Linked DNA regions of Homo sapiens: all the other regions are linked to region 2. The links are contacts of gene promoters, found by promoter capture Hi-C in blood cells and fetal thymus (Javierre and others, 2016). All regions are on one chromosome and are shown on one strand. Each heading gives the region's core, a stretch centred on a gene start or on the middle of the fragment in contact. The rest is flanking DNA. Distances are from core to core; before and after follow the strand shown. Region 1 holds the start of ZNF805 (zinc finger protein 805). Region 2 holds the start of ZNF606 (zinc finger protein 606). Region 3 holds the start of ZNF543 (zinc finger protein 543). Region 4 holds the start of ZNF17 (zinc finger protein 17). Region 5 holds the start of ZNF749 (zinc finger protein 749).

Evidence for each region. The method cuts DNA at HindIII sites, captures the fragments that hold promoters and counts their contacts. A CHiCAGO score of 5 or more calls a contact.
Region 1: a fragment that was not itself captured here is called in contact with the fragment with the promoter of ZNF606 in region 2 in 1 of 17 cell types (naive CD4 T cells); the score reaches 5.3 in naive CD4 T cells.
Region 3: the fragment with the promoter of ZNF543 here is called in contact with the fragment with the promoter of ZNF606 in region 2 in 10 of 17 cell types (naive CD8 T cells, total CD4 T cells, activated CD4 T cells and 7 more); the score reaches 16.3 in naive CD8 T cells.
Region 4: a contact is called between the fragment with the promoter of ZNF17 here and the fragment with the promoter of ZNF606 in region 2, in 13 of 17 cell types (non-activated CD4 T cells, total CD4 T cells, naive CD8 T cells and 10 more). The highest score is 12.2, in non-activated CD4 T cells.
Region 5: the fragment with the promoter of ZNF749 here is called in contact with the fragment with the promoter of ZNF606 in region 2 in 12 of 17 cell types (naive CD8 T cells, non-activated CD4 T cells, naive CD4 T cells and 9 more); the score reaches 11.4 in naive CD8 T cells.

Annotation. Positions count from the first base shown.
Region 1 is chr19:57,238,242-57,241,014 of GRCh38, forward strand. It overlaps ZNF805 (zinc finger protein 805), which reads left to right and starts at 2,391. Exons shown (of 4, transcript NM_001023563.4): 1 at 2,391-2,680. The coding sequence starts at 2,651. RefSeq lists enhancers at 1,989-2,208, 2,229-2,498 and a silencer at 2,619-2,688. The HindIII fragment of the contact is 1,631 bases long and covers 709-2,339 here.
Region 2 is chr19:58,001,481-58,004,180 of GRCh38, forward strand. It overlaps ZNF606 (zinc finger protein 606), which reads right to left and starts at 1,340. Exons shown (of 7, transcript NM_001348022.3): 1 at 916-1,340. It overlaps ZNF606-AS1 (ZNF606 antisense RNA 1), which reads left to right and starts at 1,414. Exons shown (of 4, transcript NR_036508.1): 1 at 1,414-1,566; 2 at 1,731-1,856. RefSeq lists an enhancer at 1,272-1,691. The HindIII fragment of the contact is 14,498 bases long and covers 455-2,700 here.
Region 3 is chr19:57,319,115-57,321,814 of GRCh38, forward strand. It overlaps ZNF543 (zinc finger protein 543), which reads left to right and starts at 1,358. Exons shown (of 4, transcript NM_213598.4): 1 at 1,358-1,757. The coding sequence starts at 1,740. RefSeq lists enhancers at 1-251, 1,177-1,296, 1,307-1,456. The HindIII fragment of the contact is 3,609 bases long and covers 1-2,345 here.
Region 4 is chr19:57,409,904-57,412,603 of GRCh38, forward strand. It overlaps ZNF17 (zinc finger protein 17), which reads left to right and starts at 1,258. Exons shown (of 4, transcript NM_001330617.2): 1 at 1,258-1,503. RefSeq lists enhancers at 1,262-1,371, 1,452-1,511 and a silencer at 1,755-1,957. The HindIII fragment of the contact is 5,033 bases long and covers 1-2,432 here.
Region 5 is chr19:57,433,899-57,436,598 of GRCh38, forward strand. ZNF749 (zinc finger protein 749) reads left to right here and starts at 1,427. Exons shown (of 3, transcript NM_001023561.4): 1 at 1,427-1,695. The coding sequence starts at 1,681. RefSeq lists enhancers at 1,012-1,311, 1,942-1,991. The HindIII fragment of the contact is 4,352 bases long and covers 1-2,700 here.

The DNA.
Region 1 (2,773 bases), core at 274-2,773, 760 kb before region 2:
TTTTAGATCTAATTGACTTTTGTTTGTGATTCATGAATTGAGGCAATCTCTGTTCTACACAATAGAAATTAGAGTTCCCACTGGGCAATGGCAGAACAGTGGGTTTTGTAAGGTGGGAACAATAAAATAGAACAATAGAAAAAAAAGCTGATTGGTTAACAGATTACTTTTTCTAAGGGTTAAAGCAGAGGGGACTTCCTAATTTCACTAATTCAGGTAGACTGAAATCTGCTTTTAGGAAAAACTGGGATCTGTCTGCTTCCTTAAAACTTCAGTTTGATTAGATGACATTTAGTATGAGAGACGCCATTTTGATTTGGTCAGTGAGGCCTGCTGTAGGAGCTCCAAAACAATGGCCTCCTGTAATTTTTGTTTAACAATGTTCACCTCTTTCCATTCCTTTCTCCATCTATGCTCATTTTTTTTCATGGTCTTGTCCAGTATCATAACTTGAAATAACAGTGTTTGCCAAAAACTTCCAGATTTTTATGTCCAGGCACAACTTCTCTCCCAATATTCAGTCAGAGATTGAACTGCTGTGACACAGACACTCTGTGGTCATACAGACATTTCAAACTGATCATGCTTAAAGTTGGAGTCATGAGCTCACCCAGTCCAAGACTCCCCACGTTAAGGAATGTCAAATCTACTCTACCAGGGCTCTCAGCCAATACCTAAAGCAAAAGTTGCTGGACCATGTGAAGACCAAGCTTGGCCAAAGAAGGCCCAAGAGAGACAATGCATTTGCAACATGTCCCAGCTGGACAGGGTCTTGCTCTATTGCCCAGACTGGAGTGCAGTGGTGCAATTACAGGTCATTGCAGCCTCGACCTCCTGGGCTCAAGAGATCCTCCCATCTCAGCCTCCTGAGTAACTGGAATTACAGGGGTGTGCCACAATGCTCAGCTAATTAAAAATTTTTTTTGAGTAGGCTGGATGCTGTGGCTCATGCCTGTAATCCCAGCACTTTGGGAGGCCAAGGTGAGTGGATCACTTGAGCACAGGAGTTCAAGACCAGCCTGGGCAGCATGGTGAAACTGACTACAAAAACTACAAAACAAAACAAAAAAACCCTCAATTTGCTGGGCGTGGTGGTGCGTGCCTGCAGTCCCAGCTACTTGGGTGGCTGAGGTGGGAGGATCACTTGAACCCTGGAGTTTGAGGCTGCAGTGAGCTGTGATCGCGCCACTGCACTATGGCCTGAGCAACAGAGCGAGACCCTGTCTCAAAAAATATATATATAAATATATATATAAATATATATGTGCATATATATACGTATATATACATATGTATATATACGTATATATGTATATATGTATATATAAATATATGTATATATAAGTAGAGAGAGAGAGAGAGAGAGAGACGGAGTCTCACTCTGTCGCCCAGGCTGGAGTGCAGTGGCGCGATCTCGGCTCACTGCAAGTTCCGCCTCCCGGGTTCACATCATTCTCCTGCCTCAGCCTCCCGAGTAGCTGGGACTACAGGCGCCAGCCACCACGCCCGGCTAATTTTTTGCATTTTTAGTAAAGACGGGGTTTCATCGTGTTAGCCAGGATGGTCTCGATCTCCTGATCTCGTGATCTACCCGCCTCGGCCTCCCAAAGTGCTGGGATTACAGGCGTGAGCCACCGCGCTCTATTTTTTTTCTTTTCTTTTTCTTTTTTTTTTTTTTTTGGTACCAATGAGGTCTCGCTCTGTCGCCCAGACTGTTCTCAAACTCCTGTCCTCAAGCGATCCTCCTGCCACAGACTTCTGGGACCACAGGTGTGCGCCAGCACACTCAGCTTATTTTAAAAAAATTTTTTTTTTTTTTGGTAGTCTCCCTATGTTGCTCAAGCTGGTCTTGAGCTCCTGGGCTCAAGCGATCCGCCCCCCTTGGCCTCCCAATGCGCTGGGATCCCAGGCCTGAGGCATCGCGCCGCCCGACGTCCCCCTTTGGTTACTCTGACTGCCCGCTGATCTGTATAAGAGGATCCGGAGGGGAAATAATGCAAGGTGGAAGTCAGAGTCCGGAGCCTGGTCCAGGGTCTCTGCACTGGCCCTGACCCTGGCAAATGTCCCTGACTCCTGGGGCTCGATTTCCTCCGGCCAAGAATGGACGGTCTCGCGCTTGGTCCCTGGCCTCCGAGTTGTGCCCCCAGGACAGAGGCAGGTCTGAGCCGGGCTGTAGGCCCGCTGCGACTTTTACACCGAGGCCTGCCGGCTCAGGATCTGTCCCCTTTGCAGGTGGTTTGTAGAGAAAAACTACATTAACTACAAGGCATTGCCAGGTGCGACGGCGGGCCCTGGGGCCAATGATGGTCCAGGACAGGGGCGTTTCCTGTGGGTTGCGAAGCTTGGGGCGGGACTTCCGGCATTTGGATGGGACGTAATTTGGGAGCGACGGTTCCGTCCACGCCGGCTCTAGGGAGGGGGCGGTGTTCCGTGGCCGCCTCCCTGGCGGCGCTGGGGAAATGAGCAGGTAGGAGGCCGACAGCGACCTCCGCGTCTCGGAGCGAACCGTGAGCCTCCCCGTAACGAGAGAGTTTGACTGTCAGCCAAGGTCACCGGGCCCGGCGCAGGGAAGGGGTGGGGCTCGGCTGAGCCCGCGAGACCCGCCCTGCTCGCCGCAGCCCCCGCCCCGCTAGGGCCACAGGGTCCCGGTATGGCGATGGCTTTGACGGACCCGGCGCAGGTGAGTGGACAAGGTTTCGGCCTTGCTGCTTTTCTGCTAGTTCGGGGAAGCCTCCTGGGCAGGCCGGAAGCCAAGACAGCCACAGGATTCCTC
Region 2 (2,700 bases), core at 90-2,589:
TCGTAAGAAAAGAGAATTTACATGTCAAAAAAGTAACACAATTCCTGGAGAGAAATGAAAGGTAATTTGCATAAGCTGGAAAAAAGAGCATGATCCTGAATGAGAGGGTACAAATTTGTCAGCTATTCCCAAGAGACAGCCAGTCACAACACAGATGGAACTTTTGGATTAATCTGACAATTATTGTAAAATCAACTTGCAATCCTCATATATTAGTGGTTGCCTAGAGCTGGGGGAAAAATGAAATGGGGAGTGACTGCTTAAGGGGAACAAGGGTTTCTTTGTGGGGTGATGAAATGTTCTAAAATTAGATAATGGGGATGATTGCACAACTTTATTAATATACAATAAAACCGGTGAATTGCACACTTTTAAGTGCTTAAAGTGAACATTATGTTATGCAAATTTAATCCCACCTCCAAAAAAAATTCACCTCCAAGATTTACTAAGCCTAAGCTTGTGTGTGTGTGGAGGACTTAGAGATGGGCCTGGCGCCCAGACCCCTAACTCCTCAGGTTCCAGATCTTTGTACAAGTCAGCAACCTCTCGAATGGATTCCTGGGTATGTGTATAAAGCACTAGAACACACAGTGGGCCTCAGGAGCACCGGAATCAGCGCGAAAACGCAGAATGCAAACCGTACTTTGCACCATTATTTGCAACTTGACAGTGACCGCCGCCGTCACTGCATGTTTAAGGGAACCCGGAGCTGTTTCCAACCCAGGTCTGACGTCCTTCACAGTGCTTTGTGTGAACTGGCAGGGGGAGAAACGACGGCTGGGGAACGAACGGGGTTATTCGTCCCATCAATGGCCTCAGAAGCATCCTTATCACCTGCTTCCAGAGCTCCCGACCCAAATTTCCTCCTCAAGACCGACGCGGCCGCGACGCTGCAAAAGCTCGTCCCGGCCTCACCTGGCTCGCGGCCGGCGGTCCCCCTTGAAGGCGGCGCAGCAGGATCGGGGTCTGCCCGCCTGGGGCGTTTGGCTTTTGTCCCGCGCCGAGGTCCGGCCCAGGAGTGCGCTTGGGAGCTCCCGGCGCGGCCTCGGGGACAAAGGCCCGCGGAGCCGACGTGCAGCAGAGTTCACCCAGGCCCGTCCGACCAGAAAACGAAGAACGCCCGGAGGCGGGAGGCCGGAGGCAGGCTGCTGGCTGGAGAACCGACGGCAACGACGGCGCAAAGCCGGCGCGGAAAGGGCAGGCGCAGGACCCACCCTGACGCCGCCTCTCCCAGCCGGCTCTCCTGACCCCCCAAGCCCCGCAGCTACGGCGGCCCCACAGCCTGAGCAAAGGCCTCACCTCAGCCGCGGACAATGGCGGCTGCTTCCCCGGCGTCGACCGGAGCGCGCCGCGGGGTCTGCTGGGAGCTGTAGTTCCAGGCGGGCACTTCCGGCGTCGGGCAGCGGCGCCGCCATGACAGGTTCCTGGGCCGCGCCGCCTCGCCCTGCCTGGGCGGGGTTGGGACCTTTCTGGCACCTGCGTCGAAGCCGGCGGCAGGATGGACTTTGTTGTCCCGGTCCCAGACCACCCTCCTCCACCGTCGCCTCCCACTGCAAAAAGGCCTGGGTAAGTCGCGGCCCCGCGGGCCTCGGTTTGCCCATCCGCAAAATGGCGCCTCGTGGTACCGGGTTTCCCGGGAGGAGCTCGGCGAGTTCTCAGCGCTCTCGAGGGATCCTTCCATTTGGCGTTCGCAAGATTGTGAGAAAGTGACTGCTGTTATTCTCTTTAAGATAAGGAACCTAATTCGAGCTACCCTTCTCTGTGAAGCTCGACGGCTGAGAACGTCAGGGCTCGTTCCCAAGTCTCTTTCCAGAGGCCAGGCTTTATGGGAGCATGGGTTACCAGCGACGCACCCTGTGAGTTTTCCTCTATCGATATGCATGGAGCGGTTCGGGAGCGGTGGCTCATTCCTGTAGTCCCAGCACTTCGGGAAGCTGTGGCGGGAGGATCAGTTGAGTTCAGGAGTTCGACACCACCCTGGGCAACATAGCGAGACCACATCTCTACAAAAAAAATACAAAAATTAGCCCGGTGTGATGGCGCGCGCCTGTAGTCCCCGCTACTTAGGAGGTTGCGGTGGAAGGATTGCTTGAGCCTGGGAGGTCAAGGTTGCAGTGAGCTATGATCGCACCACTGCACTTCAGCCTGGGCAACAGAGCAAGACCCGGCATTAAAACAAACAAAAACGGGCCGGGCGCGGTGGCTCACAGCTGTAATCCCAGCACTTTGGGAGGCCAAGGCAGGTGGATCGCCTGAGGTCAGGAGTTCCGAGACCAGTCTGGGCAACATGATAAAACCTCGTCTCTACTAAAAATACCAAAAATTAGCCGGGCTTGGTGGAGGGCACCTGTACCCAGCTACTTGGGAGGCTGAGGCAGGAGAATCGCTTGAACCCGGGAAGCGGAGGCTACAGTAAGCCGAGATCAAGCCATTGCACTCCAGCCTGGGCAGCAGGGCAAGACTCTGTCTCAAAAAAAGGGACTGAGGGACTGTAGGTGGTGATACCAAAGAAAGCATGGCCATTTAGGAAGCTAGACTTGAGTGAGCAGTGGGCAAGAGAGATTTTGAAGATATTTCCACTAGTAATGGAGGATCATTTTAAAAAGCTGGCCTGTGGGTTGGGCTTTTGTTGTTGGGTGGTGTTGGCACTCACTGTGGGTGGGCAAAGGGGAGTAGCCCTTTCAGAGGGAGAGGAAAAGT
Region 3 (2,700 bases), core at 108-2,607, 680 kb before region 2:
AGCCATATTGCTGCAAAAGCCATGATTTTTTTTAATGACTGAGTAGTATTCCATGGAGTGTATATATATATACACATATATACATATACATACATATATATACATATATATACATATACATACATATATACATATATACATATACATACATATATATACATATATATACATATACATACATATATATACATATATATACATATACATACATATATATACATATACATACATATATATACATATATATACATATACATACATATATACACATATATATACATATACATACATATATACATATATATACATATACATACATATATACATATATATACATATACATACATATATACATATACATACATATATATACATATATACATATACATACATATATATACATATATATATCGCATTTTCTTTATCCAATCATCTGTCGATGGACACTTAGGTTGATTCTATGACTTTGCTACTGTGAATAGTGCTACAGTAAGCATGTAAGTACAGGCATCTTTTTGATATAGTGGTTTATTTTCCTTTAAGTAAATACCCAATAGTGGAATTGCCAGATCAAATGGCAGTTCTATTTTCAGTTCTTTGATAAATCTCCATACTGTTTTCCATAGAGGTTGTACTAATTTACATTCCCACCAATAGCATATAAGCGTTCCCTTTTCCTTGCATCCATACCAACATCTGTTGGTTTTTTACTTTTTAATAATAGCCACTCTGACCAGTATAAGATGGCATCTCAGTGTGTTTATGTGTGTGTGTTTTCTCTCATCATATCTCATTATAACCTCAAATTCCTGGGCTCAAGCAATCCTCTTGCTTCAGCCTCCCAGTGTCTAGGACTACAGGTGTACACCATCATGCCTTGCTCTTTTTTTTTTTTTTGGTAGATATAACATCTTACTATATTGCCCAGGGTGGTCTCAAACTCCTGACCTCAGCAATTATTTTGTGTTGGCATCCCAAAGCACTGAGATTACATATATGAGCTACCTCCCTAAAATAAGGGAAGTGAGCCAGAAGCTCTGGGCCCAGCCCATGATCTCAATCGGGGCGAATATCCCCGCCTCCTGACCTCAATTTTCCTAAGCTAGAAAGGACCTTTCGACCCTCCGACTTGTGCCCATAGTAAAGCGGCGGCCCTAAGACGACGCGGGGGTCCTTGTGCGCACTTAAATGGAGTCGGCTGCGCTTGGTGAGTTCCCACACCCGGTAGATGTGAGGGAAAAACTGCCTTACTCAGAAGGCACCACCCCTTGCGTCGGCCGCGGACTCTAGGCCAATGACGGGCCAGGACACGGGCGATTTCTGCGGGCCAGGGCGGCGGAGGTGGGACTTCCGCTTCGTCGCGTGACGTCATCTCCGTGAGCAGGATTGGCCCTGGAACAGTGTGGGGCCTGGACCGCTGGGTAGGCGCGTCCAGCGGCCTGAGCAGGGGAGGGTAATGAGGCTGTTACGCGCCTTCTCCGCATCTTGGCGGGAGCCTGACGCCCCGCTTCTTCCCTAACGGGGTGTTCCACCGGCGCCTGCCGAGGCCTAGGCCTCCGCAGCCGCCCTCCGTCTCCTCAGCCCCGACGCTGCGCCCGCTTTGTGCGCATTTTTCTCTGGGGAAACTGAGGCTCCGAGTGCGAAAGTCAGCCGAGGTCGCCCCGCCCAGGACAGAGAAGGGCTGGGGGTCGGCTGAGCCGCGGCATTCCCGGGCCCCGCTAGGGCTGCAGGGTCTCAGGATGGCAGCCTCGGCGCAGGTGAGTGGACGAGGTTTTGGCCTTGCTGCTGCTCTGCTACTTCTGGAGGCCTCGTGGGCAGGCAGAAGCCAAGACAGCCACAGGATGTTTCTTTGTCGCCGTCGTTTATTTAAGAGAAGTGGCCGTAGCTTGTCATTTCCTTTATCCGCAGTCCTGCAATAGTGTTGGCCTCCGACAGGTGCTCAGTCCTTGGTAGAAGGATGAATGATGCTTCCTTCATGGATCTCATCACACTTCCCTTAAATCCAACCTCCTCTGTTGCCTGCCAGCCCCTACCCCATCCACCTGGCCAACCACCCCTGACCTTGTCTCTCCATTTTTCCCTTGTCCTTTGCTCTTCAGAGCCACCAACCTGACCGTGCAGTCTTCTTCCTTTTTCCAGGCTTTCTCTTTGCACTTCCCTTTGCCTTGAACACTGCCCCTATAACTTCGCAGGGCCTCCCTCTCATATCTTTCTGGCCTCTGTCCAGATGTCACCTATTTGGAGGTGGCTTTCTTGGCAATTCCGGCTAAAGTGGCGCCTTACGCACTTGCCCATTTTTGGCAATGTGTGGCATTTTTGTATAGAGAATCTGACGATATTAAAGAAGCTTGCCGTTTGAGTTGGTCTAGGATGTTATGTGAACAAAGAGAAACGAAATAATTGCAAAGAGTGACAGCTGATCATAAAGAGTCCTTGCTGTGGGCTGATTGGCAGGCATTATTTAACCCTCAGCTCCTTTAATCCTGAACTCCTTAGAATTAGGTTCTCTTGTCCTCACTGTTTTACACAAGAGCAGCTGGAGGCTCACATAGGTTCAATTACCTGCCTTACATCACTGTAGCTCTTAAGTATCAGAAACTAACAACTGGTGTGTCTACCATCACAGCCTGTGTTTTTACCCTCTTCTTTGCCCGCAATGGTTAGGGAGGCCTGGGGGTGACACCTAAAGTAAACTTTGCA
Region 4 (2,700 bases), core at 8-2,507, 590 kb before region 2:
TCTTAGAGGACCACAGACAGCTAGCAACCCTACTCCTAATGTGTCCCATGCACTTAGTATTGTACCTGGCATCGAATGAGTGTTCATCAAATATGTTAGAGTAATAAATACGACAGCACAGTTTCCCTATTCAGCTTTACTTTTCTGGTAACTCTTTTAATATATAGTCTTTACCTCTCCCTTCAAGCTGTTAATGCACAATGTTTTCAAGTTTGAAAAAGAATCAGATTTTGGACACCAAACTTGAGTGTGTCCAAGGTTCCAGGACAACCTTAGCTTTTTTCCTCCTATCACAAATATGTTTCTCTATAACTATTTTTGCCACTTTCTTTGGATATCTACATAATCGTCATTAATAGTTTCAGTAATAGCCATTTCACAAGAGTTATTCAGAGACAATTTCAACTCCCTGTGCAGACACTGTTGATACAATTTCAGGCGAAATGATAAATCACTTTCCACTAATGAGATGAGATCATGCATTCCCAAACCTTTATCTCAGGAGTAAGATGCTTTCTTTGCACAAGGGCTTTGACTGGTGGAAGGCCACACTATTCTGGCAGATAATGGTAGATAAGTCGCTTTTCCTTTTCAGTTAGGTTTCAGTCTCTTAAAATAAGTGGAAAATATCTCAGATATAAAGTAATAAGTATCATGTGAATAAAGTGTTGCTGGGTAGGCTGAAAGACAATAACTGATTATTCAGAAAGGAAAGATATTACTCCTCAAACTCCCCATCATGCCATGTCTGGGTCTTTTCAATGTGCCCAGCAGAGCACATTGAAGATCATAAAACAGTCTCCAGAGCTTCGTTCTGTGTGTATTTGGCAAGCACAAAAGAGCTGACCGCTATGCGTGGAAGACCAGTTCTTTATGGTTGGCCATGTTCCTTCGGATGTTCGTCTTTTGGGAACTTGCTGTGCTTTACAGAATCTGAAAGGACAGGTCTCTGAAACATTTCTCTGACTTGTTCTAGACTGCCTTCCGGGAAAATCTGGATGCTTGCCGTTTAAAAGCCAATGAAGCCCCTCCACGTCCTTGGAGCCCCGCAACTGCATTTCTCAAAGCCTCAGGAGGATCCTCCTGGCTTTCATCCTGAACGCGAGTTAACTTAAGTTCAGAAGCGGGGCAGGCAGTGGCCTGGGAACTACATTACCCAAAAGACACAGCGGCGGACACAAGCAGCGAGTGTAGCCAATGAAGGCCTAGCAGAGCGGCGTCTACGGGGGTTCGCAATGCGTGTGGGCGGGACTTCCTGCAACGCCTCCTGGGGTTGTCAATATGGCTGCGTTGGGATCTGTTCACCTTCAGGCTGAGTCGAGACTGAGGTGAAAAAGCGGAAAAACGCGAGAAAAGGTTTCCCCGTTGTACAGAGGCTAGAGTGAGGCTCGGTTGAATCGGTTGCAGGCGTTGGTGCCTCTGTCAGCGTCCAGGTCACTGCCGCTCCCGCCCCGCTCTTCCCTGGCTGTGCTGGCGGAGGCTGCGCCGATGAACCTGACTGAGGTGGGTGCCGCGTCCCAGGGCGCCCCGCCCGATCCCTCCTCCGAGTGCCGAAGCCCCGAGGAGGGGCCCTGCAGGTCAGGCCCCTGTGTCCCAAAGAGAGGAGCGTTCTTGTGTGGGGTACCGGTGTCCGCGGTGCTGTGAGGCGGGGGAGCTCCTGTCAGGGACCTGCACGTGCGAGGCTTAGAGGTGCTGCAGAGCGGGCGGCACTGGGGAGCCCGAGCGTCTTTGTCTCCACGGAGCTGAGGGTGAGGCGGAGTCTCGCCTGGGAGGGCAGCGGAGCTGCTGAAAGCCGTAGAAGGCTGTGCAGGAAGGGTTATGCCCAGAGGTAGACGTTTAAAGTTGGGAAAAACAGGATGTTAAACCAGGACAAGGGGACCGCTGAGGAGACCCCTTGAGTTATGGTAGGGATGGGCCAGAGGGGTTGCAGTAGAGGGGAAGTGTGATGAGATTCTGGATGGATCTCAGAGATAGAGTCGACAGGATTTCCTGCTGCATCAAATGTAGCAGTGAGGGTAGTGAAGGGTCTATTCCATGGATTTTGTTTTGGCCTGAAAATCTGAAAGAATGGAGTTGGAGAAGTCAGCTTAGGGAGCAGGTTTCAGAGAGGATTATGAGTTGCATTTTGGAGGGCTGAGTTTTGGAGGGCAGATCATGGGTGGGTCCATAAGCCTGACGCTACCTTTAGAAAGGCGCAGACCTGTCATAGGAGGGATTCTGGCTCATATCTGCAAAAACGGAGTTCTGAATGGGTTAAGGAACTGGCCTAGGCTGGAGACTGAGGTGTGAGGTGGTTTAGATTTCTGCACCTGCAGACCCAGCAGCCCCCCAGGCCCACTCTGTGGAACAATAGGAAGGTCATCCAGACTAGTGGGGACATTGGGTCCAGACGGGGGTAGGGCTTTCTCACATCTAGTCAAGGGCCTCCAGCAAGCTTCCAGCAACTGAATTTGTAGCAGGCAGGCCTGGTTGCTGATGGGACCAGTAACTGACCTGCTTGCTTATCCCCTCCCTGCAACTTATTTATTTATGAATGTGTAAAACATTTTTTTTTTTTTTGAGACAGAGTCTCGCTCCATCGCCCAGGTTGGAGTGCAGTGGCGCGATCTCGGCTCACTGCAAGCTCCGCCTCCCGAGTTCAAGCAATTCTCCTGCCTCAGCCTCCCGAGTAGCTGGGACTACAAGTGCCCGCCACCACGC
Region 5 (2,700 bases), core at 177-2,676, 570 kb before region 2:
CTAAATGCCGACTTTTTGTAGTGCATTGTAAAAAGCTGAATAAAGCCAGGGACGGTGTCCTGTACCTACAGTCCCAGCTGCTCTAGAGGCTGAGGTGGGAAGATAGCTTTAGCTCAGGAGCTGAGGCCTTATCATAAGGCCTTATAAGACTACCTGGAGGCTTCATCTGCATGATATAACCTTGGTCTTCACAACCCCTTGTCTTTTTTTGTTTTTGAGACGGAGTTTCGCTCTTGTTGCACGGGCTGGAGTACAATGGCGAGATCTCGGCTCACCGTAACCTCCGCCTCCCGGGTTCAAGCGATTCTCCTGCCTCAGCCTCCCGAGTAGCTGGCATTACAGGCATGTGCCACCATGCCCGTCTAATTTTGTATTTTTAGTAGAGATGGGGTTTCTACATGTTGGTCAGGCTGGTCTCGAACTCCCAACCTCAGGTGATCCGCCCACCTCGGCCTCCCAAAGTGCTGGGATTACAGGCGTGAGATACCACGCCCGGCCCACAACCCCTTAACCCAGACAACCATTTCTACTGATTCCAGGTCTTTAGATACAAACTCTTTCAACCAATTGCCAATCGGAAAATCTTTGAACCCACCTGACCTGGAAGCCCCGCCCCTCCCTTCCAGTTGCGCCTTTCCAGAGGAATCCAATGTACATTTTACATGTATTGATTGATGTCTTACGTCTTCCTAAATTGTTAAAACCAAGCTGTAGATGGGCCACCCTGGGCATATGTTCTTAGGATATCTTGGAGCCGTGTCATGGGCCATTAGTCACTCATATTTGTCTCAGAATAAATCTCTTCAACTATTTCACAAAGTTCCACCCTTTTCGTCGACAGAAAGATATTCCTCCTTCAACTCTCCATCACATCCTGTGTGGGTCTTTTCTTTCTTGTCCCAACAGAAGCACACTAACGATCAAAAAAAAGTCTCCAGAGCCTCAGTATGTGTGTACTTGACAAGCACAAAAGAGCTGACCGCTATGAATGGAGGACCAGTTCATTATGGTCAGCCATGTCGCTTCTGATGTTCTTCCTTTCGGGACTTGCTGTGCTTCAGAGAATCTGAAACGACAGGTCTCTGAAATATTTCTCAGACTTGTCCTAGACTGCTCTCCGGGAAAATCTGGTTACTTGCAGTTTAGGAGTCAGCAAAGCCCCTCCACGTCCTTAAGAGCCCCGGAACTGCATTTCTTAACGCTCCTCCAGGAGCCTCCAGCTTTTTTCCGTAAGGTCCGCGCGCCCAGCATTGTGAGGCGAGGCAGGCAGCAGCGTGGGAACTACATTACCCAGAAGACACTGCGGGCGACACAGGCAGCAACGTGAGAACTACATTACCCAGAAGACACTGCGGGGGCAGGGCAGCGAGTGTAGCCATTGGTCTAGCAGAGAGACGACTAATGAGGTCTCAATTGTGTGGGCGGGACTTCTGGCGGCGCCCTCATGGTTGCGTTAGCATGGCTACCTAGGGATCTGTTCACTGATTTAGAGGGTCCCAGAGCTCTGGGTCGGGACTGAGGTGAAAGAGCGGAAAAACGCGAGAAGCGGTGTTCCTTCTACACAGAGGCTAGAGTGCGGATCGGCTGAGTCGGCTGCAGGCGCCCCTGCCTCCGTCAGCGTCCAGGTGACCGCCGTTCCCGCCCCGCTCTTCCCTGGGTGGACTGGAGGAGGCCGCGCCGATGAACCTGACCGAGGTGCGTGCAGCGTCCCAGGCCGCCCCGCCCAACCCCTCCTCCCAGTGCTGAAGTCCCAAGGAGCCGCCCTGCAGGTTAGGCCCTTGTGTCTCTAAGAGAGGGGCGTTCTTGTGTGGGGTGCCCGGGACTGGGACTGCGGTGCGATGAGGCGGGGGAGCTCCCGTCGGAGACCGACACGTCTCTGGGGCTTGGAGGCACTGCAGAACGGGCGGCACTGGGGAGCCCGAGCGTCTTTGTCTCCAAGGAGCAGAGGTTGAGGCGGAGTCTCCCCTGGAAGGGCAGTGGAGCCGCAGAGAGCCATAGAGGGCTGTGCAGGGAGGACGAATGGGAGGGTCACGCCCAGAGTTAGAAGTTTAAAGTTGGGGAAAACAGGATGTTGAACGGGGGCAGGGGGACCGCTGAGGAGACCCCTTGAGTTATGGTAGGGCTGGGCCAGAGGGGTTGCAGTAGAGGGGAGATGTGATGAGACTCTGGATGGATCTCAGAGATAGGGTCAACAGGATTTCCTGCTGCATCAAACATAGCTGTGAGGGAAAGTCGGTAGTGAATGGTGTCTTCCATAGGTTTTGTTTTGGCCTGAAAAATCTGAAAGAATGGAATTAGAGATATCAGCTTAAGGAGCGGGTTTCAGACAGAAGATCCTGGGTTGGATTTTGGGCGACATCACATGGGTAGGTGGACGTAATTTCCAAAGGTGAGGGAAGGTAGCTGGCCTGGAGCTTTAAATGAGTTAGAAGTTGTGCACTTGAGAAGTTGGCCTGTGGATCAGATTGAGAAGGAAGAATCCTACATCGTTTTTTCATATGGGCTGAGGTAGGGGAGGGCTCAGATTTGGAGGAAAGACCATGGTAGGGAGGGCATCTCTGATACTCCCTGCAGAAGGGAGCAGATATGGGCTAAGAGTCTGGTCTGTTTCTGTTGAAAAAGAGGCCTGGATGGATAAGGAGTTGCCCTGGAATACAGAGACTGAGGCATGAGATAATTGTAGTCACTCCACCCTTCTAA